Linked DNA regions of Homo sapiens: all the other regions are linked to region 4. The links are contacts of gene promoters, found by promoter capture Hi-C in human tissues and cell types (Jung and others, 2019). All regions are on one chromosome and are shown on one strand. Each heading gives the region's core, a stretch centred on a gene start or on the middle of the fragment in contact. The rest is flanking DNA. Distances are from core to core; before and after follow the strand shown. Region 1 overlaps TOM1L2 (target of myb1 like 2 membrane trafficking protein). Region 2 holds the start of SREBF1 (sterol regulatory element binding transcription factor 1). Region 3 overlaps TOM1L2 (target of myb1 like 2 membrane trafficking protein). Region 4 holds the start of RASD1 (ras related dexamethasone induced 1). Region 5 overlaps DRC3 (dynein regulatory complex subunit 3). Region 6 overlaps TOM1L2 (target of myb1 like 2 membrane trafficking protein).

Evidence for each region. The method cuts DNA at HindIII sites, captures the fragments that hold promoters and counts their contacts. A contact is called where the count stands out against the background at its distance.
Region 1: a fragment that was not itself captured here is called in contact with the fragment with the promoter of RASD1 in region 4 in 3 of the 25 tissues and cell types used here (H1 embryonic stem cells, aorta and dorsolateral prefrontal cortex).
Region 2: a contact is called between the fragment with the promoter of SREBF1 here and the fragment with the promoter of RASD1 in region 4, in 1 of the 25 tissues and cell types used here (adrenal gland).
Region 3: a fragment that was not itself captured here is called in contact with the fragment with the promoter of RASD1 in region 4 in 1 of the 25 tissues and cell types used here (dorsolateral prefrontal cortex).
Region 5: a contact is called between a fragment that was not itself captured here and the fragment with the promoter of RASD1 in region 4, in 1 of the 25 tissues and cell types used here (heart right ventricle).
Region 6: a fragment that was not itself captured here is called in contact with the fragment with the promoter of RASD1 in region 4 in 1 of the 25 tissues and cell types used here (pancreas).

Annotation. Positions count from the first base shown.
Region 1 is chr17:17,883,830-17,888,336 of GRCh38, forward strand. It overlaps TOM1L2 (target of myb1 like 2 membrane trafficking protein), which reads right to left. Exons shown (of 15, transcript NM_001082968.2): 5 at 805-939. Among named protein-coding and RNA genes, the nearest start is that of SREBF1, 49 kb to the left of the region's middle. RefSeq lists enhancers at 230-991, 992-1,751. The HindIII fragment of the contact is 4,674 bases long and covers 526-4,507 here.
Region 2 is chr17:17,834,748-17,839,196 of GRCh38, forward strand. SREBF1 (sterol regulatory element binding transcription factor 1) reads right to left here and starts at 2,239. Exons shown (of 19, transcript NM_004176.5): 1 at 1,980-2,239. The coding sequence starts at 2,070. RefSeq lists enhancers at 1,114-2,015, 2,016-2,918, 2,919-3,820 and silencers at 1,618-1,897, 2,088-2,247. The HindIII fragment of the contact is 17,140 bases long and covers 1-4,449 here.
Region 3 is chr17:17,926,621-17,930,599 of GRCh38, forward strand. All of the region lies in intron 1 of TOM1L2 (target of myb1 like 2 membrane trafficking protein), which reads right to left. Among named protein-coding and RNA genes, the nearest start is that of TOM1L2, 44 kb to the right of the region's middle. The HindIII fragment of the contact is 3,577 bases long and covers 1-3,175 here.
Region 4 is chr17:17,493,584-17,497,779 of GRCh38, forward strand. RASD1 (ras related dexamethasone induced 1) reads right to left here and starts at 2,812. Exons shown (of 2, transcript NM_016084.5): 1 at 2,313-2,812; 2 at 854-2,101. The coding sequence starts at 2,598. The coding sequence ends at 1,542. RefSeq lists silencers at 2,743-2,962, 3,123-3,252, 3,303-3,532. The HindIII fragment of the contact is 34,145 bases long and covers 1-4,196 here.
Region 5 is chr17:17,984,428-17,988,687 of GRCh38, forward strand. It overlaps DRC3 (dynein regulatory complex subunit 3), which reads left to right. Exons shown (of 14, transcript NM_031294.4): 5 at 3,505-3,671. It overlaps LOC107984989 (a long non-coding RNA gene), which reads right to left. Exons shown (of 3, transcript XR_001752801.2): 2 at 3,959-4,080. Among named protein-coding and RNA genes, the nearest start is that of DRC3, 14 kb to the left of the region's middle. The HindIII fragment of the contact is 5,475 bases long and covers 1-4,219 here.
Region 6 is chr17:17,901,758-17,906,074 of GRCh38, forward strand. The region is part of intron 2 of TOM1L2 (target of myb1 like 2 membrane trafficking protein); the gene reads right to left. Among named protein-coding and RNA genes, the nearest start is that of SREBF1, 67 kb to the left of the region's middle. The HindIII fragment of the contact is 5,652 bases long and covers 1-4,317 here.

The DNA of each region.
Region 1 (4,507 bases), core at 1,613-4,112, 390 kb after region 4:
TGCACAGGTGTGCTATCCTTCTCAGAGATGGGCAGTGGGGGCAGGCAAGGTGAAGTGTACTGGGATGAGGTGCCTCTCCCAGACCCTGGTGCTTTCCTGGCTCTCCCCCAGGCTAGGAGTGGAGTTGATTCCCAGCCAGTAGAGGGACTAGCTTCCTTGAGAAACCATGAGGCATGACCTACATGCTTTTAACCCTGAAGTGCCAAGCTGCCCCCTCCACGGTGCTCAAGTTACTGTTGGCACTGCAAAAGCTTTGGTGGGATGCCCCTAAAGGGACCTTCCCAGGGCTTTGATCCCAAGGCTGATGGAATCAAGGATTGAATCCAGAATCAATTCTGGATTGATGCTGAATACTCACAGCTCAAAATAAATTTTAGATCCATTTGACTTGGTACAATTGAAAAAACAGAAAGCTACTTTTTGACCCAAGAGTGACATCAAGCCCTGAGGTGCTATGGTGCTCTGAGGGACAACAGGATTCCCACACCAGATTCTAGGGGCCTCTGAAAAGCAGGTGCTAATGACCCTCACAGGATGGCTCCGCCCAAGTAGCCATTTCCATGAAAACCCTGAACTGATCCCTTTATTATATTCTTCCACAGACACTGCTGCCACTTAATCACCAGTCAACCAGCTGTCTCACTCCTGCATGCCCCTTGTTATTAAAAAGGAATGCCCCCGAGCTTTAAGAAAGCATGATGACAAGCTGAATAATTCAAAGGCAGCAGCAGAAGGGTGGCTGCAGCAGCTTGGCTCACCCGTTCTGCAGTAGGTCTTTCTAGAAAGTGCCAGCTGGAAGCTTACCCGCTGTGGTGTGTGTATGGGAGACAGAGCGTCCAAGTCTGCCATGGGAAATTCAACCCCTTTCCTCTTCAGCTCCTCATATATGTGCACAACGCCGGTGAGATCAGGACTGCTTCGAAAGGCATCAGCCCATGCCTGGGATAATAGAAGGCCTGTTAGGAAGCATTTCTCAGAGCTGCCATGGTATCTGAAAATCCAAAGTGGCCCACGTCCTCTCCCCGAGACCAGTGCTCTCCTACTTGCACATGCAAATTGCACTGGCTAAACCTATTCTGTTCCTCTCCTTCCGCAACTGCTGCCACGACACAGCTGGTGAAACCCTGGCTTTCAATGGTGCTGCTGAGCGTGAACAAAAACACAAAACTTAATTTAGCATGTATTTCCTTGGAGAAGAGACAGAGAAATAACACCTATGCACGGTGGTGCATCCTAAAAAGCAGGAATTTCCCTAATGGCAAGGAAATCAATTGCTGGGGCTGTTCAGCTGCAGGGAGTGGAAGCTGGAGCCTTGTCAGCTCAGCAGGGTGCCTGCCCTCTGTGCGGGAGCACCTCTGCCCTGAAAGCTTCTACTGGTGGAGTTGGGAACCGGCAACAAATTGAGCAGAAAGGAAAGGAGAAATTGATGTGTGACATGAAGTAAAGGCTAACTACAGGTTTCCTCAGATCAGAGACAACTAATGCTGAGCTTGTCTAGCCTAGCTCTGTCTAGCGCTGCTGCCAGTAGGTGAGATGACTGTGGTTCAAGGGAAGAAGAGCCCATTGGGAGCTAGACCCAGGCCAGACTGGGGAGTTCACCCCCAGGGGTCCTTTTCCCAGACCCAAGCTTCTTTCATGATGTCCGCTGCCAAAAATGTCAGCACATGTGTGCCCAAATCGAAAAATCCCAAGAAAAGCACAATCACCAGATTCCCTTCAGTGAAAACATATCACAGAGAGGAAAGAGCAAAAATTCAAGTAGATTATCATTTCTGTTGACTCATGAAACTTAAAAATTAAAAAAAAAATTCTGGGCTGGGTGCGGTGGCTCATGCCTGTAATCCCAGCACTTTGAGAGGCCGAGGCGGACGGATCACGAGGTCAGGAGATCAAGACCATCCTGGCTAACACAGTGAAACCCCATCTCTACTAAAAATACAAAAAAATTAGCTGGGCGTGGTGGCGGGTGCCTGTAGTCCCAGCTACTCAGGAGGCTGAGGCAGGAGAATGGTGTGAATCCGGGAGGCAGAGCTTGCAGTGAGCTGAGATGGCGCCACTGCACTCCAGCATGGGCGACAGAGCAAGACTCCGTCTCAAAAAAAAAAAAAAAAAAAAAAAAATTCTGTTCTTTGGAAGTCTTGGACTGTATCAAAAACAGAATACTCAAAGGCCTTCCCAGAAATGGCCCTTCTCATGCTGTCCCATTCACCATACATACCCAAAGGAGGAGGCAGAGCCTCCTGTGCCCATGACTCCATTGCCAAGTCTGTCATTGTCACAGAATTTAACTGTCTCCCTCACTCCAGCAATGTGGTACAACCAATCCTGAGGCAGCCACAGAAACTCTGTCTCTAACCAACAGACCCATTTGAAGTTAAAAGGTCAGTTTCCAAAAAGCCTCCTTAATTATGACTGATGCATCTCACCAGGAACAGTACTGTCAGCCCGGCTTTCCCTGATGCACTTATTTAATTTGCATGCTCAGGGATTTAAAACTACTGGATCAGGACAGCCCCTCTTGGCCAACACTCCTTCTGGATTCTGAGGAGGGCCAAAGAAAGTGCCTCACAGAGCACTGTCTGGAAGGCCCAGCTGGAGGAGAGTAGGTTGCCCGTAGGGAGTGCCTCTGGCCCCGCCCCCACCAGCTGCGCTGGCTGCCTCCACCTGGTTCAAAATCCAGCTAAGTCCTGTGACGCCAACCTCAAAATGCCCTAGCATTTTAGTTTAGGGTGTTGACTTTAGGGTCTAAAAACCAGTTTCACAGCCCACTGTCGGAGGCTGGGGAAAAAACACATGGCAGTTCTTCCTGGCACCACTTCATGCCTTTGTACATGGAGTACCAACAGCTCCAGGGATTCCTTTCAATTCATCTAGCTCTCTACCCAAGCCAAATTTGAGATAATAGGAATAAAGATGAAAGAACTATGGCTCTTCTCTCCAGTTGGAGGATACTTCTTCGGGTCCACTTTCTAAGGCACTCTGCTTCCATGTTCACAGAGACAGACTGGAGTGGGAGGGAAATGCACACCCAAGTTGGGCCAATCAGATGCTCCTCCTTCCAGGAACTCAGCAGCACTAGAAGCTGGGATGTTCTCACTGGGTAGGCAGAACTGTCCTCTGTAACTCCAGGGCCATGTGCCAGCACAGGACTGGAAGCAGAGACAGCCTATGTTCTCCAGAAGGAGCAGCTAGAGTGCTCGGAGGTGCAGGCGTACAGGAGAGGATTTGGAAGGCCTTCCTGATATTTTCTGTCCCTTCCCAGGGCGGGGTGACCTGGACTTCTGGGAGACTCTGCCCTGTCATGACAAACTCTTCTCTTTGCCTAGGCAAGCTGGAGTTGGCATCTGTTATTTGCGATCAAGTAGTCTTGGCTAATCTACCCGCTTCCTACCTGCCACAATTCCAACCCTTATCTGGGACCTCTGTGCAGACTGGATGAGATGGCTGCTAACAGAGCAGATATTCATGATGGCAATCTCTATTGAATAGGATTCTCATGCCAACAGAGGAAAAAATGGGGTGCAGGGGCGCCTCTGAATAAATGCAGCTCTGGGTGTCTCTCATCTCTGGGTGTCTCCCATTCATATGTGAAAACGTACAGATGGGAGACATCCAGAGATGCCATGTGTCCCTAGCATCTTCTTGGGACATGCCTCAATAATTGGGCATGGGTCAGAGCTGTCCCCCAGGCTGGAGTACAATGGTGGTGCCATCTCAGCTCACTGCAACCTCTGCCTCCGGGCTCAAGCAATCCTCCCACTTTAGCCTCCAGAGTAGCTGGGACTATAAGCATGTGCCACCATACCTGGCTAATTTTTGTATTTTTTGTAGAAATGGGGTTTCATCATGTGGCCTAGGCTGGTCTTGAACTCCTGGACTCAAGGGATTCACCCACCTTGGCTTCCCAAAGTGCTGGGATTACAGACATGAGCCAACTGCGCCCAGCCCAGACACCTTTTGAAGGCAGACACCGAGTCTCTCACCCGTGTACAGAGAAGGCAGTCAGTCAACATTTATCAGGTTAAACTGAATTCAGTTCTCACAGTTACTAAGCATCCTTATTTTCCTACTTCAGAGAACAGAGGAAAGATGGCCACTTAGGCTGTCAACAGACTGAAGTGACAGTGACAAAGGAGGGGTGCTGGAAGGCTGACCCAGCTGAGAATACTCCCTAGAGAAGATGTGGCAAGCCTCAGGAGGTCTGGCCACTCTTGGAGTGCTTAACCTGAAGCCTGAGAGCAGCACTGAGGGTGGGGGAGGCTGCCCCCTCTTAAAGCTGCCTTTTCAGAAAGCAAAGTGATGCAGCGGTGTGAGCACACTCTGAGGGCCTGTCACAGGAGCTAGCTGGTTAATGGCCAAGTGGTCAGTTCACTGGAAGCCTTCTTTTCCTGCCTGTGGCTACAAGATTAGGGGCTTGGAAGACCCAGAGGAAGGTCTAATGAGGAGAAAAAAGGAAAGAGATCAATTCAGATCTCCTTCATTCCTTTGGACCGTATACAAAACCCCA
Region 2 (4,449 bases), core at 989-3,488, 340 kb after region 4:
CTCACACCTGTAATCCCAGCACTTTGGGAGGCTGAGGCGGGCGGATCACAAGGTCAGGAGATCGAGACCATCCTGGCTAGCACAGTGAAACCCCGTCTCTACTAAAAATACAAAAAATTAGCCAGGCGTGGTGGCTGGCGCCTGTAGTCCCAGCTACTTGGGAGACTAAGGCAGGAGAATGGCGTGAACCCAGGAGGAGGAGCTTGCAGTGAGCCAAAATTGCGCCACTGCAGAAAACAAACAAACAAACAAACAAAGGTCTGTATCAGACCTGTGGCCCAGAACGGGTTCTGTTGTCCAACTTGCCCATGAAGGGAGGGTTTGCATCATTTTTCTGGAGGTGGAAACTAAGGTTTAGAGGGTGAGAGGGCTTGAGCAGGATGACAAAGGAAGTGAGGAGTGTCCAGGTTCAAGTTCTGACCCCAAAGCGCATGTCCTCCTGGCTTGGTCACGTTGCCTCTTGGGACTACACTCACTGGGCCCAGTGATGTGGAACTGGTAGTTGAGTCAGGCCCAGATCTCCCTAGGGCTTGGGATTTCAGGGTTCATCACTCCAGAGGGCAGTGAAGGACAACCCCTCGTGCCAGGGATAGGGGAGGCTGTTTTGGAAAAGCCTCACAATCAGGGCCTCTCCTCTGGGGTCCTCCCCTAGCCCAGCCCCAGGGGGAAGGAGGGAGGGCTGGGAAGCTTCTGGGGCTGGCAACCAGCTGGGCTCATCTGCAAGGCTGCAGTAGGGCAGGAGTGGTGGTGGCATAGATATATCTGTTTTGCCAACCCCAGGGTGGCCACGGGTTCCATGGACATGTCCATTCAGGCTGTGAGTCTAGGCATCTTGTTCCTGCGACCTTGGCCTCAGTTTCCTCATCAACCAAGTGCAACTTAGCTAGTGCTGCTAAAACTCCTGCACAGAAACCATGCAGGCAATTTGCTAGGGGCTTCCGTTTGCTCTATCTACAAAATGGAAGCAACGGGCCTCCTAATTGGCACTTGGTGCCACCATTGGCCCCAAACCCCTTCTCATCACAGCCAGGGTGATGCTCCAAAGATGGAAGCCGGTGCCACTGTTCTGCTCCGCCCTTTCCCTGGCCGACCAAGTCGGTTTGCGTCCTCCTCCTCCCTGACCTCACTCCTTTGCAAGCCTCTAACTCCTCACACTTAGGCCCTGCCTCGAGGCCTTTGCCCTTCCCTTGCCGTGGCCTGGAAAACATCTTTCCTTGCTGGTCCTGGGGGTGACCCTCAGGTCTCAGCTTAGAAGTCCCTGACCGCTCTACCCAAAGTAGCCACATCCCTGCCCTCCCCCAGCCTCGCTCCACCCAAGGTACAACTAAATACCCGTTTGGTTTCCCGGGAGATTTTTGTGTTCCCTAAAAGAGGGGGTACCCAGGTCTGTCTGTAAACCCTCGGTGCCTAAGACGGGGCCTGGCATTCGGTGGATGTCAGTGAATGAGTGCGGAGGCTGTGCCCGTCGCAGACCGGGAGAACCCGACACGAGGCGGGGGAAGGGCGCGAGGCAGCGCCCATGCGCATGCGCAAGAGCTCCGACGCCGAGCTGAACTCTCGGGCCGGAGGGAATGACCGTGAGTAACCTCGCAATTACGTCACGGCTGGGGCTGGGGCGGAGCTTCGGCGACGCCTGGGTCCCCAGCTTCAGCCGTGGCCATCACAGGGCTGGAGAGTCACCGGTCGGGCGGCACCCGGCCTGGGACGCGTAGAGGCGCACGTGTCCCGGCCCGGAGCCGCCAAGGGACCCCGGCCCGGCCCAGGAGCCCTCACCCACAAGCGCGCGGCCCGAGACGCTAGCGCGGGAACCAGGGAGGCTCGGTGAGGCTCGGGACACCGAGCTCAGAGACACCGGGAAGTCCCGCGCGAGCACAGCACGGAGCTGGCGCCCGTGGGGGAGACAAAGGCCAGGGAGACACCTGCGCGCCCCCTACTCGCGCCACCCGGCGCAGCTTCAAGCCCTGCCCGCCCTGACGCACCTTCGATGTCGGTCAGCAGCGCCGCGTCCAGATCGCACGGCTCGCCCAGCGCCTGCTCCAAAGCCGCCTCGCTGAAGGGTGGCTCGTCCATGGCGCAGCCGCCTCCTCCGGGAGGCCCGCCGGGCCCGCCGCCTCGTACGGCCCTTCCTAGGGAGCGCCGCCGCGGCCCCGGCTCTCAGTCGCCGCCGCCGCTCCGCGCGTTCGTGTCCTGCCCTGGCCTCAGAGGCGGCCCGGCGCCGGCGAAAAGTTCCTCGGAAACTGGGTTCCCCCGGCCGCAGCTCTGCTGGGCGGTCGAGGCGGAGGCGGGGCCTTTCGGGGAGGACCCGCCCTCCCAGATAGACGGCCCCGCCCCACCTTGAGAGAGCGGGGGACCCCTGATCCCCGGTCTGCGCCACAAATCTCCCCTCAGCCGGCCCCTCCTCCAGAGCGCCCTCCAGTCATTCATTTTATCCAGCCTCGCGCACAATGGCAGCGGCCTCTGGCCGGCTGCTGCGGGAACGCGGGCAAGCCGAGCCCCCTCTCTGGGCCTCTGTTTCTCCAGCACCAAGCAAGGAAGCCGAGTGGAAGCCCCAGGCCTGGGCCCATCCCAAACTTCATTTCCTCATTTCCTAGATTTGACTCTTTAGAACAAGACAGACCAGGATCCAAGTTATAGGGGTCCCAGGCCTGCTGTGTTGTGAGCAGGCCTGATGTAACTGCTGGGCCAGTTACATCACTCTGCCTCAATTTTCCTCATTTGTAACATGGGCCTAATGATGCTTTCTCACGGGCAGGCTGGGAGGCTAGTGACAATGTGGAGGGGAGCATGACCTGTGAGATCAGCCTGCCCCCTCTCTGCAAAGAAACCAGAAGATTGGCCTCTTGAGGACAGGAGTGGCCAAAGAAAGAGGCTGGAATTTCGTCATCTGGTTTCCTCCCAGATCCAGCTGTAGGGATAGGATACCAGTGGGCCCAGTGCAGCTCCTGAAGGAGGAAGCCAGTACCCAAGGAAGACTGGCCCCAGGGCTGTCTGACCCCAGATTTGGCACTTATTCCCAGGAGCAGCCAGGATAGGGGCCGCAAGGAAGAGGTAGCTGTGCTTTAGATCAGAGCCAGGCTGCCCTGGATCATCACAAGCTGGGACTAGATCAGAGCAGGCAGCCCTGTTGAGAAGAGGGCTGGAAACCGAACCTGGTTCTGTGGCCTAGGGACAGAGCCAGGTGGGGCAGGAAGGAGGGAAGGGGTCCCAATGAGGTGGGTTGAAATAAACCAGAATTAACATTCAGGAATCTGAATGTGATAAGGCAGTGAGCTCCCTGTCCCCAGAGGTATGCAAGCAGAGAGAAGCACCCTTGGTGGAGGGCAGTCCAGGAAACTCATCAGGGGCCTGGGCCTCAGGCCTTCCCGACCCCAGACCTTCATAAGTCAAGCCATCCTGCAGACTGCCTTGCTCAAACTCCAGATATAGCCTATCTGGCCACGCCCTAAGCAGGAGTAACATTCATGATGCATTTTAGAAGGGGTGTGTGGGGGAGAGAAGCCACAGAGCCCAAGTCCCTGGGGCTCAGCCTGGACATCCAGCTCCCTTTGTTCCTCTCCCAGAAGTGGCTGCGGTGGAAAATTACCCAGAATAGCGGCGCCAGAAGTCATAGGGGTCGCCAAACCACATCTCCCCAAGTAGCCCTGCTCAAGGGTCCACCCAGGACCCACTCCCTCCAGATGAACAACTGCTGGAGAACACAGAGAACAAAGCTGGCTTCTCCTCAGTGCCCCACCCCCACCAACACTCTAGAGGCTGCAGGAAGCTGGTGACTTCCCTGAAAATTTAAACAGCCCTTCCCAGGGAGGGGGTGGGATAGGAAGTGCTGGGTGAAGCCTAAATACCATTTTCTTCAGAGCTAGGCAGGTGATCTGGGTTTTCACCTGCTTGCTGTGTGACCTGGATCCAATACCTCACTTCTGAGTCTCAGCTACTGTATCTATAAAATGGGAATAACCCTTTCTGCAGTCCCTCTGCAGAGGCAGGGAGGGTGTTTTGGAGTCATCATCACAACAGATCTGCCTCACTGTTTTTTGTTTTGTTTTGTTTTGTTTTTTGTTTTGAGACAAAGTCTCTCTCTGTCACCCAGGCTGGAGTGCAGCGGCATGATCTCGGCTCACTGCGACCTCCACCTCCCAGGTTCAAGCAATTCTGTCTCAGCCTCCTGAGTAGCTGGGATTACAGGCGCACGCCACCATGCCAGGCTAATTTTTGTATTTTTAGTAGAGATGAGGTTTCACCATTTTGGCCAGGCTGGTCTTGAACTCCTGACCTTAGGTGATCCACCTACCTCGGCCCCCCCAAAGTGCTGGGATTGCAAGTGTGAGTCACTGCACCTGGCTATCACTGTTTTTGTTGTTGTTGTTGTTGTTGTTGTTGTTGTTTTTAAGACAGAGTCTCGCTCTGTTGCCCAGGCTGGAGTGCAGTGGCACAATCTTGGCTCACTGCAAC
Region 3 (3,979 bases), core at 137-2,636, 430 kb after region 4:
TGGAGGCCGAGGCGGGCGGATTGCTTGAGCTCAGGAGTTCAAGACCAGCCAACATGGTGAAACTCCATCTTTACAAAATATACAAAAATTAGCTGGGCCTGGTAGCACACGCCTGTAATCCCAGCTACTTGAGAGGTTGAGGCACAAGAATCGCTTGAACCTGGGAGGCAGAGGTTGCAGTGAGCAAGGATCACACCACTGCACTCCTGTCTGGGCGACAGAGAGGGACTCTGTCTCAAAAAAAAGGAAGAAAGAAAAAGAAAAAGAAATGTAACCATATTTAAATATGAAGAAGAGCCCCAACACAAGCATGTATTCCTGTTTATACAATATTCAGGGCTAACAGACTTATCACACACAGGTTGTGTAACTTATTAATGACAATGTGACTTTAAACAGTAGTTCTAAGTGGGTCACCTTGAATAATACGAAACAAAGCTTGCCAAGGGAAACATGCAAATAAGATCAAAATCCAACAGGGAATAGGCATTTTCCTAGCTTTTCGGATTTTTACTGTAGAAAAATAAACACAGTATCTATCTAGTTTCTTTAGCACTAAAAAAACCAACAGCATGAAACTGCATTCTTCAATGGGGGTGGAGTCCAAAGGGACAGGCCCGACATTATTTTCAGCACACTGTACCAAGTCAAGCTGGTATGTGGATAAAGCAGCACAGCTGGGTTTACCATGTGAGTAACGGGCAGAGAGAACCTACCACCCTATGTGGCGCAAACCACATGAGGCCAGCTGCAGAGGCTGTGGAGAGAGGCCTCTCTTTATCCCTTCTTCTTTCCCTCCATCTCTTTCTGAGGCCAGGACCTGCATGCAGACCTTTCTTGATAAAGAACTCAACCTCAATGTGATACATCAAGGGAAACATTCCCTGAAGAACATGGTGGAGCAAATAAACATTTGGCCTCGTGAGAATGGCCACAGAAAACACTAGGGAATCTTAAACTGTCAGTTGGATGACTAGATATTTTATGATATTAAGGATTATGATTAATTTATTTTAGATATGATAATAAGCTGTTGGCTATACTTTTTTTTTTTTTTTTTGAGACAGGATCTCACTCAGTCACTCAGGCTGGGAATGCAGCGGCACAATCTTGGCTCACTGCAGCCTCAACCTTCCAGGCTCAAGTGAGCCTCCCACCCTCAGCCTCCTGAGTAGCTGGGACTACAGGCATGTGCCACCACACCTGGCTAATTTTTGTATTCGTGGTACAGCCAGGGTTTCACTATGTTACCCAGGCCTCCCAAAGTGTTGGGATTACAGGCATGAACCACCACACCCAGTCAGCTATACTTTTAAAAAGATTCCTTATCTTTTAGAAATGCATACTTAGGTATTCATAGATGAAATTATATGATGTCTGGGATTTACTGAAAAATAATCCAGGATAAAAGTGTGTGGGGCTATGGATGAACCAAAACTGCCATGAATTGATAATTGTAGAAGCTCAATGATGAGTATGTGGGGGTTCATTATAGTCATCTTTTTCCTTTTGTATATGTCTGAAATTTTCTGTAACAACAAAAAAAATCAGTAGGAGACAGCATAAAACCATTCATAACTTTGACCCGGCAATAGCCCCCTAAGGAAATAAATAAGGGGGAAGGGGAGAGCTGATTCTGCAAAGATGCATAATTGAGAAAAACACTGCTGCTCCCAACAAACGAGAAGATGGCTAAGCAACGAGGGTACATCAATAAGGCAAAAACGCTACGTGGCTTTTTAAAATGATAAATACTTCAGCCTAGTCGCTAAGTGGAAATCGGCATAGGAATGCTAAGAGGAAAACAGGCAGGATAAAATATTATGTGCATACTAATCACCACAAGGTAAAAATGCATGCTCACATAATGGAAAGGGTCAAAAGAGAACACAGAAGGCGACACCCTCCCTTTAACACTCAGCTCGTTGCCTCCTCTCAGTGAGGGCCCCAGACGGCCCCCGCGTGAGCATGCACACACGAGATGAATTAATTGCACTCTTCTGGGATCTCACAGTCCTCACTTGCTGAGGCTCATCCAGCCCCTATTGCTTGTCTAATGGTTCCTCATGGACCTGCCTTCCCTGATGCACCATGAATTTTACCAGCACACAGTAGGTATTCAATAATGTGTGTCAAACAGAATAGAACATAAATAGCTGCTGTCTGTGTCTCAGGATTTTTTTTTTCTTTAGAGCTATTCCCACCCACAGTAGCCATTCAGGAAAGGCATTCCTCAGTATCAGAGAACAATGCTTCCATTTCTGATTCACAAAGTGCTTCTGCTACGTGGGTTTATGAAGCCAGCAAGGCAAAACAAAATCAAGCAGACTTTCTGTCTAGATCCTTGCTGGACCACACAGAAAAATCCCATTTTGTTTTGCAAGCTTGTAACAAGTCTCATTGCTATGGTTCCTAATACCAAGTCTGAAGATTCCCCAAGCACTGCTGTGAGAACGGGCCTTTCCTTGGCTACTTAAAAATGCTGCATGGCTGCTCTCTGTGGCTGGCACTATAGTAAAGGGTACAAGCCAGAATGCAGTCGGGACTGTGGCTGCTCAGCAGCGTCAGGCGGGGAAGTCAAGAACTGCCCATCTAGACAGAAGTGGGCAGCAACACAGCCTGGGCCATGCTCCACCCAGTCTGAATGTTTCTCCATCTCTTCTGCTTAGAGCTGCTTTGAGCAGCAGGCTTTGGGTGGGTGAGAGGGGTTGATAGGGATATTCAAGAATGTCAGAGCCTGGGCGTGGTGGCTCACGCCTGTAATCCCAGCACTTTGGGAGGCAGGTGGATCACCTGAGATCGGGAGTTCCAGACCAGCCTGACCAACGTGGAGAAACCCCATCTCTACTAAAAATACAAAATTAGCCAGGCGTGGTGGAATGTGCCTGTAATCCCAGCTACTCAGGAGGCCGAGGCAGGAGAATCGCTTGAACCCGGGAAGCGGAGGTTGTGGTGAGCCGAGATCGCACCATTGTACTCCAGCCTGGGCAACAACAGCAAAAACTCCATCTCAAAAACAAAAAAAAGAATGTCAGGAAGAAATCCATAGACTGTCATTTTTCAGAGCAGTAGTTAACTTTTTGGATAAGATGTTAAAGGAAGAATACATTCCCTTTGAAAATCTGATAAGACCTTTCCAGAGAATTACACACACAATTCTGCACACACTTTCAACAGGTTATTCACCAATCCCTGGCCTCAGTCAGATACCACTTCTGCCCTAGAGCTTTAGCTGTGACTGTTGGTATGAACACTTAGACAAGTTAAACACAACATGAATTTCCACAACAGCAAGGCAGCTGCGATGAGTGAGGTACTACAGAGAGTGAGTGACAGCTCTGTTGGGAGGGCTGTCTCTGTGTCTTTATGAAGACCACTAGCAGAGATACAGAGCCCATGCCTGGGCACACACAGGAAGGCAAGAGCACCATGGTTAAGACACTCCATTCCAAAAACAAAACAAAAAAGACACTCCATTCTAGTTCTTCAGAAATGAGACTGCCAAGCCTGAAGTCCTTAAGGTTATCAGACCATGAGACAGCCTCTTTTTGTTGGACTGGAATGCTGACACTACTCATTATGCAGTCATTTTACCGAGTGTTGCCTTAAGTGCTCCAGAAAGTGGGGTATAGAGAATTACCAACATACAAACTTTAGCCCATTCTCCTAACAAAAACCAAAAAATTGGTCCAGATGGTCTTAGGAAATGACCAAATCAGAGACTCTTGTGAAAGTGGTTAAAAAAAAGGGGGGTCTGGGAATGTGTAGGACCTAACTTTGAACTTGGTAGGCACAAGGAGGACTGCAGAGACCCTCACGGTAGACAGACACCTGGCAGGCCCCTCCTGACACTTGGGGCTCCTAAGTCTGACTTATTCCACATCTTGTCCAAGAGATAAAATACCCTTCCCCAGCAGCCTCTTGCAATCAGCTCATCAATATGCCATGAAAATGTTTTGAAACAAGCTTTGGTCACATC
Region 4 (4,196 bases), core at 1,562-4,061:
CTCACAGGGCTGAGCGTCCTCTGAAAGCCACCAATTACTTGGATTACTGGGTGGCCGGCATTTATGCTAAGTACTTTTCAAACATCACACTTAATCCCCACAGTGAGCCCATGCCGAGGGTGTTCTCTCTTCCCGGGGTGAAGAATTAGAGGCTTGGCAGGTGTCACCCACCAACAGGTTTGCAGTACTAGTGGCAGAGAGATTGGTGTTCTGGGGTGCCTTAGCCATGAGACGGAGACAGCAAGGCTGAAGGGGGATGGGGCTCTACACCTGGCCAGGAGCACTTCCTGGAGCTAGAGGGGAGCAGAGGCTGAGGAGTTAGCTGTTTCCAGACAGGGTGGCACCCTGGAGTGAGCGGGTGGTGGGGGCGCGCCAGGATGGTCCTGTTTCCAGATGGGGTCTCAGGCTCTTTCCCCAGGGCCTGACTGATGCCTCCAACAGTCCGAAAGTTTGCCTGGGCCCACACTGAGTCTGGTGACAAAATGGTTAGGCACAGTTCCAGTGGCTTTTACGCTGAAGAATTCAGAACATTCTCTCAGAAAATGAGGCCTTTTGTCATCTAACCCAAAGAAAATTAAGCGGGTGGATGGCTAGAAAGAGTTCATCTCCAGGGGGGACCCTGAAATCCTTTATATTCTTCCCGGTTTTCTAGGGAACCATCCCCTACATAGATGCCCCAGGCATCTGGGGCTTTTCTGGCAGCTGAAGCTGCCTTCAGAAGGCCAGGGTTATTTTCCAGTTCTGGGGAAGGTAAGTTCTAGTTCCACCTAAGTCAAAGCCCAGCCCTTTCCTTCTCCCCACCCTTCCCCACTCCAGCCATCTCTAAAAGCAAAAAAAAAAAAAAAAAAACCGGTTTTCCATTTTAAATTATTTTATTGTATATTAAAAAACCAAATAAAGCAATAACTTTAAAGACCTCAGACACACACAGTATAAACACCTGGGTAAGGTTTTGTTCGTGTCCATGTTGACACCGGAACTACCGTTAAAGTGCAAGTTTTGTTTTGTGTTCCTTTGTGCAGTTTCACTCACATGTAAACAAGTCACTTGGCTATGATTTGACCCACGCCCCCCCGCTTAGTTTTGGGAGGGCAGAGGCTCTACCGGCTGTCACAGCAACCCGGAATCACAGACAAGATAATGCCCCGTGGGTCCTGACCCTCAAGCGGGCATGACGGTTTCTTGAAGCCTAGCAGAGGCTGGATAACTTCACATCCCTCCCCCACCCCGCGCTCACTCTTAGGTCTTTGAGAAGATAAATCCACCCTCGGCTGGGCCCTCGCTCCCAAAGTTATGGGGGTGGCGGGCCTCAATGGGGGACCGGGGGTGGGGAATAGTCCCAGTCTTGGCCCGTTCTCTTTCCTTCCGGAGCAGATGACCGTCCCTTCTCGGTTCAGTGGCGCCTCCCCAGTGCTGGGGGCGGATCGCCGGGAGGGGAGACGCCAGTCCGCGCGCGCTCCCGGCCTGGGGCGCACCGGGCCGTTGGATTTGACTTAACAAAAAGGTCCTCCTTAGGTTGTGTCGCCAGCGCGGCGGGGCTCCTAGCTGATGACGCAGCGCTCCTTGTCCTTGGCCTGGCTGCCGGCGCTGGCCTTCTCGCGGATGTACATGAGGTCGCTGTGTACGCTGGGCCGGCGCGCGAAGGGTGCCACGATGCCAAAGGCGTCGCCCGGGTCGCCGCCGCCGCCGCCGCTGCCGGCCCGCAGCAGCTTCTTGTTCCGCAGCGCCTTCTTGTGCAGCACGTCGCAGTACTGCACCGAGACCTTGCGGTGCAGGTCTGGGCTCATCTCGCTGGGCAGCTTGGCCATGGCGAAGAGCGCGCGGAACATCTGGTCCAGGCTGCTGTTCTTCTTGGCCGAGATCTCGAAGTAGGCGCAGCGCTGGGGGTCGTCGCCCACCAGCTGCTCGATCTCGCGCTGGTCCACCTCGCGGTAGAAGTCGCGGTCACCCTTGTTGCCGCAGATGACCAGGGGCACGTCCACGTTCTCCTTGGTTTTGTTCTTGAGGCAAGACTTGGTGTCGAGGATCTGCTGCCTGAGCCGCTGCACCTCCTCGAAGGAGTCGCGGTTGTCCAGACTGAACACCAGGATGAAAACGTCTCCTAGAGGGGGCACAGAGAGCAGAAAAGGAGAAGGTGAGGGTGGCCGCCCAGGGGACAAGTCGGGCTGACTTTGAGGCCGCGCGGGGCGCGCTAGCCTCTCTAAGCGCGAAGCGCACTACTCGGCGCGCGGCAGCCGGACCGGCGCTCGCGGGGCGCCCTGGCCGAGGGTTCCCCGCCCTTCCCTCCCGCACCTGCCCGGCCCCCGGCTCACCTGTGAGGATGGAGAGGCGCCGCATGGCGGGGAACGGGTGGTTGCCGGACGTGTCGAGGATGTCGAGCTGGTAGACCTCGCCGCGGATGGAGTAGAACTTGCGGTGGAAGTCCTCGATGGTAGGCGTGTAGGCGTCCTCGAAGCGGCCGGTGAGGAAGCGCGACACGATGGCCGTCTTGCCCACCTTGGACGAGCCGAGGATGACCATGCGATAGCAGTTCTTGGCCGGGATACTCAGCTCCGAGTCGCTCGGGCACATCTTCTTGATCATCGCGGCCAGTTTCATTGGGCAGAGGGGCCGCGAGGGCGGGCGCGGGGCCGAGAGAAGGGCAGAGAGCGGCTGAGGGTCGCTGGGGTGGCACGCGGGGTGAGCGGCTGGAGGGCTCTGCTCGGGCTGGGCGCGGCTCGGGCTTGGGGCTCCGGCTCCGCTCGGGCTGGGCTCGGGCTAGGCTGGGCTCGGCTGGGGTTCTCCCAGGATCTGGGCACAGGCCGCTTGCTCTGGCTTTGGCGCCCGGCCGCCGCCCTTATATGCAGCCTGCTCGGCTGCCCCGCCCCGGCCCTCCCAGCTCGGTGCGTCACGCCCCGCGGGGCCCGCCTCCCCCGCACCGGCTCCCAGTCCCGGCGACCTCGTCACCCGCTGCCGGGCTCCTGCTCTCTGGGCGCGGGGGCTGGGGGGAGCAGTCCAGGGTCGGGCTGAGGCTGGAGGCGCTCGGACTCCGCTTTTCCACTGCCGCGGGCTCGGCGGCCGCAGGGGCGTCGGGGTTCTGGTCCCGGCGGTGCCCCTGTCCCTCTGCGACTTCGGGCAAGGACCCCCATTCCTGCACCTCCCGCGCGCGTACACTTATTTTCTTTGGTTCTCAGTTTCCCCAGAGAATAGGAATCTAGTAAGTAACCCAGTAAGCGCAGCAGCGTTTGCTGAGTGCTTGCGCGGACCGTATATTGCAGTCCTCAGAGCACAGCCCCAGCCCCAGCCCCCTTCCGCTCCGGTCCCCAGCCGGGCTCTTGTTCCCGGGAGGCGACCGCCGGGCGGACGCGGGGTTTCAGGGCCTCAGGCGCGGAGCTCGGCACCGCGCGCTCGGGCCGCCAGAGGGCAGCAGAGGGCCCGGCCGGCGGCTCGGGGAGGCTGTGGCCGCCGCGGGCAGAGCTAGAACAGAGGCTAGGAGCAGGCGGGTGGGGAGCGGCAGGGATGGAGCAGGGGTCTCAGGGCGCCTTGCTGGGGCCCAACAGGAGCGGTCCCCAACCCCGCGCTCTGCTGCAGGCCTCAGCCTGCTCCTTTCTCCCAGCCAGAGATGCTCTGTGGTATGGAGGGCTCTGCAGCCAGCGGCCCACCCCGTCCATCATAGCATTTTGGGCTTTTACTGTGCCGCGCGTGGGCCGACGTTCTCATTGTCTAGCTGAGAGACCTGGAGCTCAAAGCCACAGCGAGCCAGGAAGGCCCTGGGAGCACAGCACAGCCTCTTGCTTTCTCCTGGGCCTCAGTTTTCTCTTCTGGAAGATACTGATTCTGGTTCTGTGATTAAGGATGAAAATATGCAAATGCTTTAGGAGGGCGGGGCCTGGTAATAACAATAGCAACAATAACAGTAGTATTGACCCATGAGGCCTGGTGGGGGTACTCTCAAGAGCACACCAGGTCGATCAGTAACCAGGAGTGGGGTGATGTTGCTGAACATTGGCAACAGGCTGTCTGGAGCCAGCTCCTCAGCCCTGAGCTCTTGAGGCAGTCACTGCTCCTCAAGGCAACCTGTGTGCTCAGTGTTTTGCTTTGGCCACGTCTGACTTACGAGAAAACTAGGGAGCCATTAGCTGGCACCACCGGCCCAGCTGTCAGGTGGTGGTCTGCAGGCAGTGCTGTGAGTGCCATACCACCCACCCCATGCCTAC
Region 5 (4,260 bases), core at 232-2,731, 490 kb after region 4:
ATGAGCAAACTGAGGTCACCACACCACATCAGGTCTCACTGCCAAGGCCATGGAGGGTTTTGATGAGATGTTCCTTCTGCTGGCCTCTTAGGAGCATCCTCACATCTGGTGAGGGGCAATGGGTCCCTAGCAGGGAGAAGGTGATGGGCCTGAGAGCTCCTTATGCCCTGTCTTGTTTAACCCCCATTTTAATCCTAAGAGTTGGGCATCTGTTATAATCCCAATCTACAGAAGAGGAGCTGAGACTCAGGGAGCCCCAGGCACTTGCCCAAAGCTGCACGACCAAGAAGTATCAGAGCTGGGACTCACCCCCACGCCTGTCTGACCTCACAGCCCACATTCCCTCCATCCTATTAGGCGGTCTTCTGGTAATAAGGGCACCCTGGGGCATCGTGAGCCTTCCAATTTGCCAAACACTCCCATCCTCCTTTGTGCTGACAATTGCAAGCCCATAGCAAACCCACAGGCAGGGTTATGCTGCCATTTCACACATGCAGCAACTGAGGCTCAGGGAGGCTGACCAGCTTGATGGAGTCATGTGCTACAGGTAGCAGGAGCAAACCACAGCCAGGTCCTCTCACACCTGGGCCCAGGTCTCTTGTCCCAGGTTTCTCATTTCTCTGCACTCTAGCACCCATTAATGCTGATTCATGAATGCCATGGTTTTAAGCAGGAGCTCTCTGGCCTGGCTGTCTCTCAGACATAAAGCAAGTACCACTGAGCCCCATGACAGCTCCCTCTTTCTGTCTGCTTACCCAGAGAGAAACCTGAATACTGGTCTTGGTTCCCTCCCTAACAGAAGCTTATTTTCCTACTACTTGGAGCCCCTGCACACACACTTCCTAGTCAGCTCATTCCCCCAACCCCTTGCAGTGGCCATCCACGCTTCCAAGGGTCATTGGACTGATGGCCAGTGCTCCCTGGGATGGGGGTGCTAGAGCAGTGAGGGCAGGCTCTGTTAAGAGGTCACACTGCCCCTCAGAGTATAGGCAGAAGCTGGTCTTTGTCCAGCCATGGCACTAGGTGCCCAGGGACCCAACCACAGCCAGAAGAGCTGGATCCCTGGGGTGCTGAGGATGGGGGTTAGGGAGGTGGCACTCCCATGGTTCAGCACGACCTCCCACACTGACATGCACAGGGCTGAGGATGTGCTGGAGCTGGCTAGCCCTGGCTCTCAACAGCTGGCTATACACATTTCTTCCCAACTTTGCTTCCAGGGATGCCACGCTGGTAGCTTGAAATTGGCCACGGTGGGAGTATTTACACCACAGAAATGAGCAAGCACCTCAAATCAGGGGTTTTCCTCAGCCCCCATTGGTAAACACTTGCTAGCACACCACTAGGGGGTAGGCTAAGCCTCCCAAGAACAGAACCCAGTGGCACGGTGGGAAAGGAAGTGTGCAGGCCTGGCATTTGTTAGACCCCCATTCAAACCCCAGCTTGGCCAACATACTGACTTTGCACAAGATATTCCACTCTGTGAACCTCAGTTTCTTTTTTTTGAGATGGAGTCTCATTCTGTCACCCAGGCTGGAGTGCAGTGGCACAATCTCAGCTCACTATAACCTCTGCCTCCCAGGTTCAAGTGATTCTCATGCCTCAGCCTCCCAAGTAGCTGGGATTACAGGTATGTGCCACCATGGGTGGCTAATTTTTGTATTTTTAGTAGAAACAGGGTTTTGCCATGTTGACCAGGCTGATCTCGAACTGCTGGCCTCAAGCAATCCACCCGCCTCAGCCTCGCAAAGTGCCGGGATTATAGGCGTGAGCCACTGCACCTGGCCCGAACCTCGATTCCTTTATGTGCTGTGCTACCTTGAGCATATTACCATGAGGCCCATTTGAATCTCAGTTTCCTCATCTATAAAATGGGGATGATGCTATCTGTGCTATGAGGATTAAACAAGGTAATGCACTTAAAGGGCCTGGCATAGAGAAAGGACAGAGTTATCATTGGTCTCAATGTCAACAGGTGAGCATCCCCTGATATGCGGAGGAGGCTATATTAAGATGTGGTTAAACTCATCTCCCAAATCACCTTTTTTTTTTTTTTTTTTTTGGACACAAAGCTTCACTTCATCACCTAGGCTGGAGTGCAGTGGCACAATCTCGGCTCACTCCACCTCCAAGGTTCAAGTGGTTCTCGTGCCTCAGCCTCCTGAGTAGCTGGGATTACAGGCATGTGCCACCATGCCCAGATAATTTTTGTATTTTTAGTAGAGACAGGGTTTTGCCAGGTTGGCCAGGCTGGTCTGGAACTCCTGACCCCCAAGTGATCCCCCCGCCTCGGCCTCCCAGAGTGCTGGGATTACAGGTGTAAGCCACTACGCCCAGCCCCAAATCACCTTTTAAATGTGATCACCCTGTGGTTATCATGCTCATATTTCCAAGCCCAGGAAAAATGCTCATTTTTGGCCTCTAGGCCATTGGTGTTCCAGGACAAGATAACAGCCCCACCTGCCAGGTAACCCTGAAAACCTGTAGTGGGGAAAAAGTACTTTTAGGCCGGACATGGTGGCTCACACCTGTAATCCCCACTTTGGGAGGCCGAGGTGGGAGGATCACTTGAGCCCAGGAGTTTGAGACTAGCCTGGGCAATATGGTAAGAGCCTGTCTCTATACAAACCTTTTTAAAAAGTTAGCTGGATGTGATGGCGTATACCTGTGGTCCAGTCTACTCAGGAGGCTGAAGCAGGAGGATCACTTGAACCCAGGAGGTCAAGGATGCAATGAACCGTGATTGCGCCACTGCACTCCAGTCTGCACAACAGAGCGAGACCCTGTCTCAAAAAAAAAAAAAAAAAAAAAAAAAGGAAGGTACTTTTATTCCCAAAGATGTGGAATTAGTCAAAAGTCTCGGTTGGGGTTGAGGGAGCCTGAGACAGCTGTGATGGAGCTGGAGGAACCTGACCTGCCACATGTCCAGGGAGAAGCCTTAGATGAACTCTGGCCCCACTGTGGTTAGCTGTGTGGCTTTGGGCAAATCACTGAGTCTCTCTGAGCTTCTGCTTCCCAAATGATAAAACAGCAAGAGAAATTCCAAACTACCACTCAGGGCTGCTGTCAGAGGATATACACGAGTGCTTGATAAACTGGTAAATGCAAAGCACACAGGAGGTGGTCTTGCTAAAATGCCACAGGTGTGAGGAAAGGGGACACTCCACCGCTGTCTACCCCGACCCCCAAGGGCACTGCTTCAGACCTGCGGGTTAGTATTTTCCTCCCAGAACTATGGCAGAGCATAGACACCAGTATTTGCCCACATGTCCCCAGCCAGGAGGATGATTGGCGGAACTGGAGAGGGTAGTGAATATTGGAGGCTGCAGGAAATAATTCACACCTGGCTTCTAAAAAAATCACAAACTATTAGACAGTGAGTCAAATTCTGGCCCTGGCAGCTTGGTGCTGGCTCACAGGGCACTCAGTAGCCCTGATGGTTTTATTTCAGGACAGCCCATCCCCTGACCCAGGCAGCAGACCCTCACAGCCCTCTCTTCTTCCCAGATCTGTCTTTCAACAACATTGAGACCATCGAGGGGCTGGACACACTGGTGAACCTGGAGGACCTGAGCTTGTTCAACAACCGGATCTCCAAGATCGACTCCCTGGACGCCCTCGTCAAGCTGCAGGTGTTGTCGCTGGGCAACAACCGGATTGACAACATGATGAACGTGAGTGGCCGCCCAGCCCGCCCTCACGCACACCTGCAGAGCCTTGGAGCGCCGTGGGTTGAGTGGGGGTCTGTGGCTAGGGGAAGTACAGGCTGAGTGTTCAGATCTTCTCATTTTCCTGGAAAAGCCAGGAATCTGGATTACTCCATGAGGGATTTGCTCATGTTTAAATACCATGCTTACCCAACAAAATTCATCGGAGAGCACTAGTTTACAACCTCCACATTAGTGGCGGTTCTTTCCCTGTGTCTTGCACTTATTTAACAAACATTTGCTGAGGTACATACCTGTTAGTGTTGGGCGTATGTCCTGTGCTCACTGGGAACAGAGACAGACGAGATGTGGTCCCTTTGGAGTGACCAGCACACACCCCCATAGTCAAGGCACAAGGAGACAAGAAGCCGGTGTCCTGAGGAACAATAAAACAAGGCCTATGGGTGGTAGGAGGGCACCCTGAGGCTTAGGGGTGTGCACAAGTGGCAGTGGACACAGCTGGGGGTGTGGCAGCAGCTTTAAGCTGCCACAGCTGTCGTCCTGTGTCAGAGGCGACACATCAGATGGCTCCTGGCTTGCTTCTGCAACCCATCAA
Region 6 (4,317 bases), core at 1,208-3,707, 410 kb after region 4:
GGCCATGTAAATGACCCAGGTCAGGGGTTCCTCATGAGAGCTGCACATCAGAGTCACCTGTAGTGCCATTCCCAAATCCACAAGCTGTGCCTTGATTGTGTAGGTCTGAGGTGAGGCCTGGAAAACAGAGTCTAAAACAGTCCCAGCTGGGTGCTCTGGCTCACGCCTGTAATCCCAGCACTTTAGAAGCCCAAGGCAGGTGGGAGGTCAGGAGTTCAAGACCAGCCTGGCCAACATGGTGAAACCCTGTCTCTACTAAAAATACAAAATTAGCCGGGCGTGGTGGTACACACCTATAATCCCAGCTACTCAGGAGGCTGAGGCAGGAGAATTGCTTGAGCCTGGGAGGCGGTGGTTGTGGTGAGCTGAGATCACACCATTGCACTCCAGCCTGGGCGACAAGAGCAAAACTCCACCTCAAAAATAAATAAATAAATAAAAACAGTCCCAGGTAGGTTATTCAGTCAGCCACTCCTGGTTAATGCCTGAAGGACTGTCATCAAGGCCTTAGGCATCAGCATTCCTCAGGCTGATGGTGACCTCAGCTCTGGACATTAGGGAAAGCCCAAGGAGAGGCCTTTCGGGCAGTTTACCAATCTGCACCCACCAGGACCACAGCCTCCCATTGGTAAAGTATTGCACAAATACAAGAAGTGCAGGCAGCACTTCAGTGGCTGCGGCCAGGTGAGCCTGTGCTTGCATCCTGCATGTGCCCTTCCAAGCTGTGCTGCAAGGCCTTTGGCAAGTGACCAAACTACTCAGCCTCAGTTTCCTTAACACTGAAACAGGCTGTCACTACCATATAGAACTGTTGGGGGTAGGGGGCGCTGCTTGTGATGATGCACTGCAGGGCTGGACACAGGGCCTGCAGGGCGTGGCACATGCCAAGTGCTCACAGACAGCAGACAGGGTAAGGGCAGTGAATCCACCAAGATAGTCACCAAGACTGGGCAGATAACTGACACCCAAATGAAAGTGATGACAAAAGTCATGGGCAATGGAAATCTTTAAAGTGAAATAGTACATCCACATAGATATAGTATGGATATGAAGATACAGTTATGTAGCCAGATACATCATATATATTTACTCCTTTAATCCTTGTAACAACCCTATGAGATAGGTATTATTGGCAACCCCATTTTATAAGTGAGGAAATGGGACACAGACACAGGGAGATGAAGTAACTCACACAGGCTCGCACAATAAGCGAGTGGTGACCTAGAATTGCTCCAGCCTGTGGTGTCCACCTTCCTCCCCTTCATCCACCTGCCTCATCTGGCTGATACCCTGGCACTCTGTAAGACTCCAGTCTGGTGTCACTTCCTCCAAGAAGGCTTTGCTGCCAAAAGTCCCAAGGCTGACCACTGCCACTGCACTAGTCTCCGTAGCTATATATAGCTTCTCTCTCTCTCCCTGCCCCCCACCCAGCACTCGTTATGCATATGTTTATATGCCTGCATTCCTCATCAGACTGTGAGTACCTTAGAGACTTCATTCATTTATTCACTTATTTAACAAATATTTATTAACAGCTAATCAAATGCATTGTGCTAGGTGCTAGGGACAAAATGTTGAGTAATTGGCTGGGCGCGGTGGCTCACGCCTGTAATCCCAGCACTTTGGGAGGCTGAGGCGGGCGGATCACGAGGTAAGGGGATCGAGACCATGGTGAAACTCCGTCTCTACTAAAAATACAAAAAAAATTAGCTGGGCGTGGTGGCGGGCGCCTGTAGTCCCAGCTACTCAGGAGGCTGAGGCAGGAGAATGGCATGAACCCGGGAGGCGGAGCTTGCAGTGAGCCGAGATCGCGCCACTGCACTCCAGCCTGGGCGACAGAGCGAGACTCCATCTCAAAAAAAAAAAAAAAAAATGTTGGGTAAAACAGATGGAAATCCTGTCCTCATGGAGATCACAGCCTTGCGGGGGTTGCAGGGCAAGACAGACACTAACAACCGTCCCACAGATCTGTAAGTTTAAACTGTGATGAGCATCAGTACAACACGGGTTATGAAATCATATAACAGAGGACTTGTCCAAATCAGGAGGGGAAGGGGTTAGGGAAATGAGATTCAAACTGAGAGATCCAGTGAATGACGGGATCTACTTAGTGAAAGAGGTGACGAGAACAGAAGGGACAGCAGGTCAGAGGCCTTCAGGGAGGGCACAAAGGGGTGGGTGGGGTGCCCTACTGTCAGTCCAACTTGTGGGAGTTTCTTTCACTCAGGAAGAGATTATTATTATTATTATTATTTTTAAGATATGGGGTCTCACTACATTTCCTAGGCTGGTCTCAAACACCTAGGCTCAAGCAATCCTCCTGCCTCAGCCTTCTGAATAGGTGGGACTACAGGCATGAGCCACTGCACCTTGCTAGGAAGAGATTTTGAGACACCTCACAGCAGAGGCAACAAGAAAACATTCTCAGGAATCACTGAGGTGCTCTCACTCAAAAAGGTAGCAACAGGAGCTTTAGCCACTTGAAGAGAAAGATGTGTGTGACCAGCCTTCTGGGAATTGAGGATTTGAAAAAGAAGGCATTGGCCCCTTCAGAATAAGGAAGCTCCTGGGGTTCCTGGGCTTCCTGCCCTCAAGCCATAGAGATATTTGAGCAATTCACTGGAAAATAAGAGTTGCCAACATATTTGTATATTGCTCAAATCTGTAGAGAATTTCAAGCTGGGCCCAGGAATATGGAAAATTCAAGGAGCTGAAAGATCAGCAGGGTTGAAGAGCTCAAAGTGGAGCTGCCGAGGGGTCTGGGGCTCCTCATGAGGGGCCTGGTTGGGGTTTTTAACCTAAGTGCCTGCGAAACCCCTGAAGGCTTGTTAGCAAGGGAGCAACTTGGTCGTTGTGCAGCAGGAAGGGGTAGGAGGGAAGGGGTCGAAGCAGAGGTCCACCTCTAGGGTAAAGTGCAGACACCAGAGAATGCAGCACCTGACCTTGACTACCTTTCCAGCCGGATTCCAGACCCTCCCGCTCCCCCAATGTCACCCTGTCTATCCTAGACAGCTTGTATCCCTTGACACACTGGCCCTTTTGATGCCACCCTTGGCTACGGGACACATTTCTCCTGCCATCCTGGAAGACAGCCCCTCCAGGAAGCATTGATACCCACCTTTCCCTCTGGGACCATGGCATCAGGGACAGGCCTTGGCCACAGCCCTTGCCAGTCCTGCCAGGTGAGCGTTCAAGGGCAGGCTGGAACATTCACCTTGGCATCCCGTAGCTGCTATACCTCCACCCCTGGGGGTCAGTAAACATGGCCAGATGACTGGACAAACAAGTGAATGAGTGGCATGTTAGGAGGACGTGAGGAAGGTAGCCACTCGGAGCCCAGTGACGATGGGATTAGAGATGTGTAGTCCCTAACAACTATTTGTGAGTCACGTCTGTGTACCAGGCACCAAGCTGATCACCTATATTTAGCTGGTGAAAATATGCCACCTTTCACCAAAGACTCCCACGTTTTCATCCAGTGCAGGCCACTGCCCCCAACTCAAGTTCCCTGTGCAGTTCCCTGTCACATCTTCCAGGAGCCTGGCTGGCAGCAAAGATCTACTGCTGATCTCTGCTCCCCAGCCTGCTCCACCTCAGGAAACAGCAGCTCCATCCCATGGTTGTTCAGGCCCCAAACCTTGCAATTTCCCTTAACTCTTCATTCCTGTCTTATGTCAGCCAATTCCATTGGCTCTACCATCTAACACATTCAGAATCCCATCACTTCTAATCATCATCTCACACCAGTATTACTGTGATAACCTCCTCACTGGGTTTTCTTTCTTCTTTTTTCTTTTTAGAGACAGGGTCTTACTCTGTCGCCCAGGCTAGAATGCAGTGACACCGTCCTGGTTCATCACAGCCTCGAACTCCTAGGCGTAAGCAATCTTCCTGCCTCAGCCTCGTACAGTGCTGGGATTGCAGGTGCACGCCACTATGCCAGGCCATCGCTGGGTTTTCTGCATTGTCCTTGGCCTGCCCCCAGTCAGGCCACTCTGAACACAGTAGACTGAGTGATCTCTTTCCAATAAGAGTGGGACCACACCACTCCTCTGCTTGAATCTCCAAAAAGGTTGAAGCCAGAGTTGCTCTGGTTCTACATGGCCCTGTGTTATCTGGGTCCCCAGTATGTCGGTAACTTCCTCTCCAGGTACTCTCTTCTTTGACCACTCTGCTCCGGGCCCATTAGCCACCTTGCTATTCCTCAAACACATCAGACACCCTCTGTCCCAGGACTTCTGGGTTTGCTGTTCCATGAGCCTTGACAGTTCTTCCCTTGTATAATCCTCACCCCCTACTCCCTCATCTCCTTCAAGT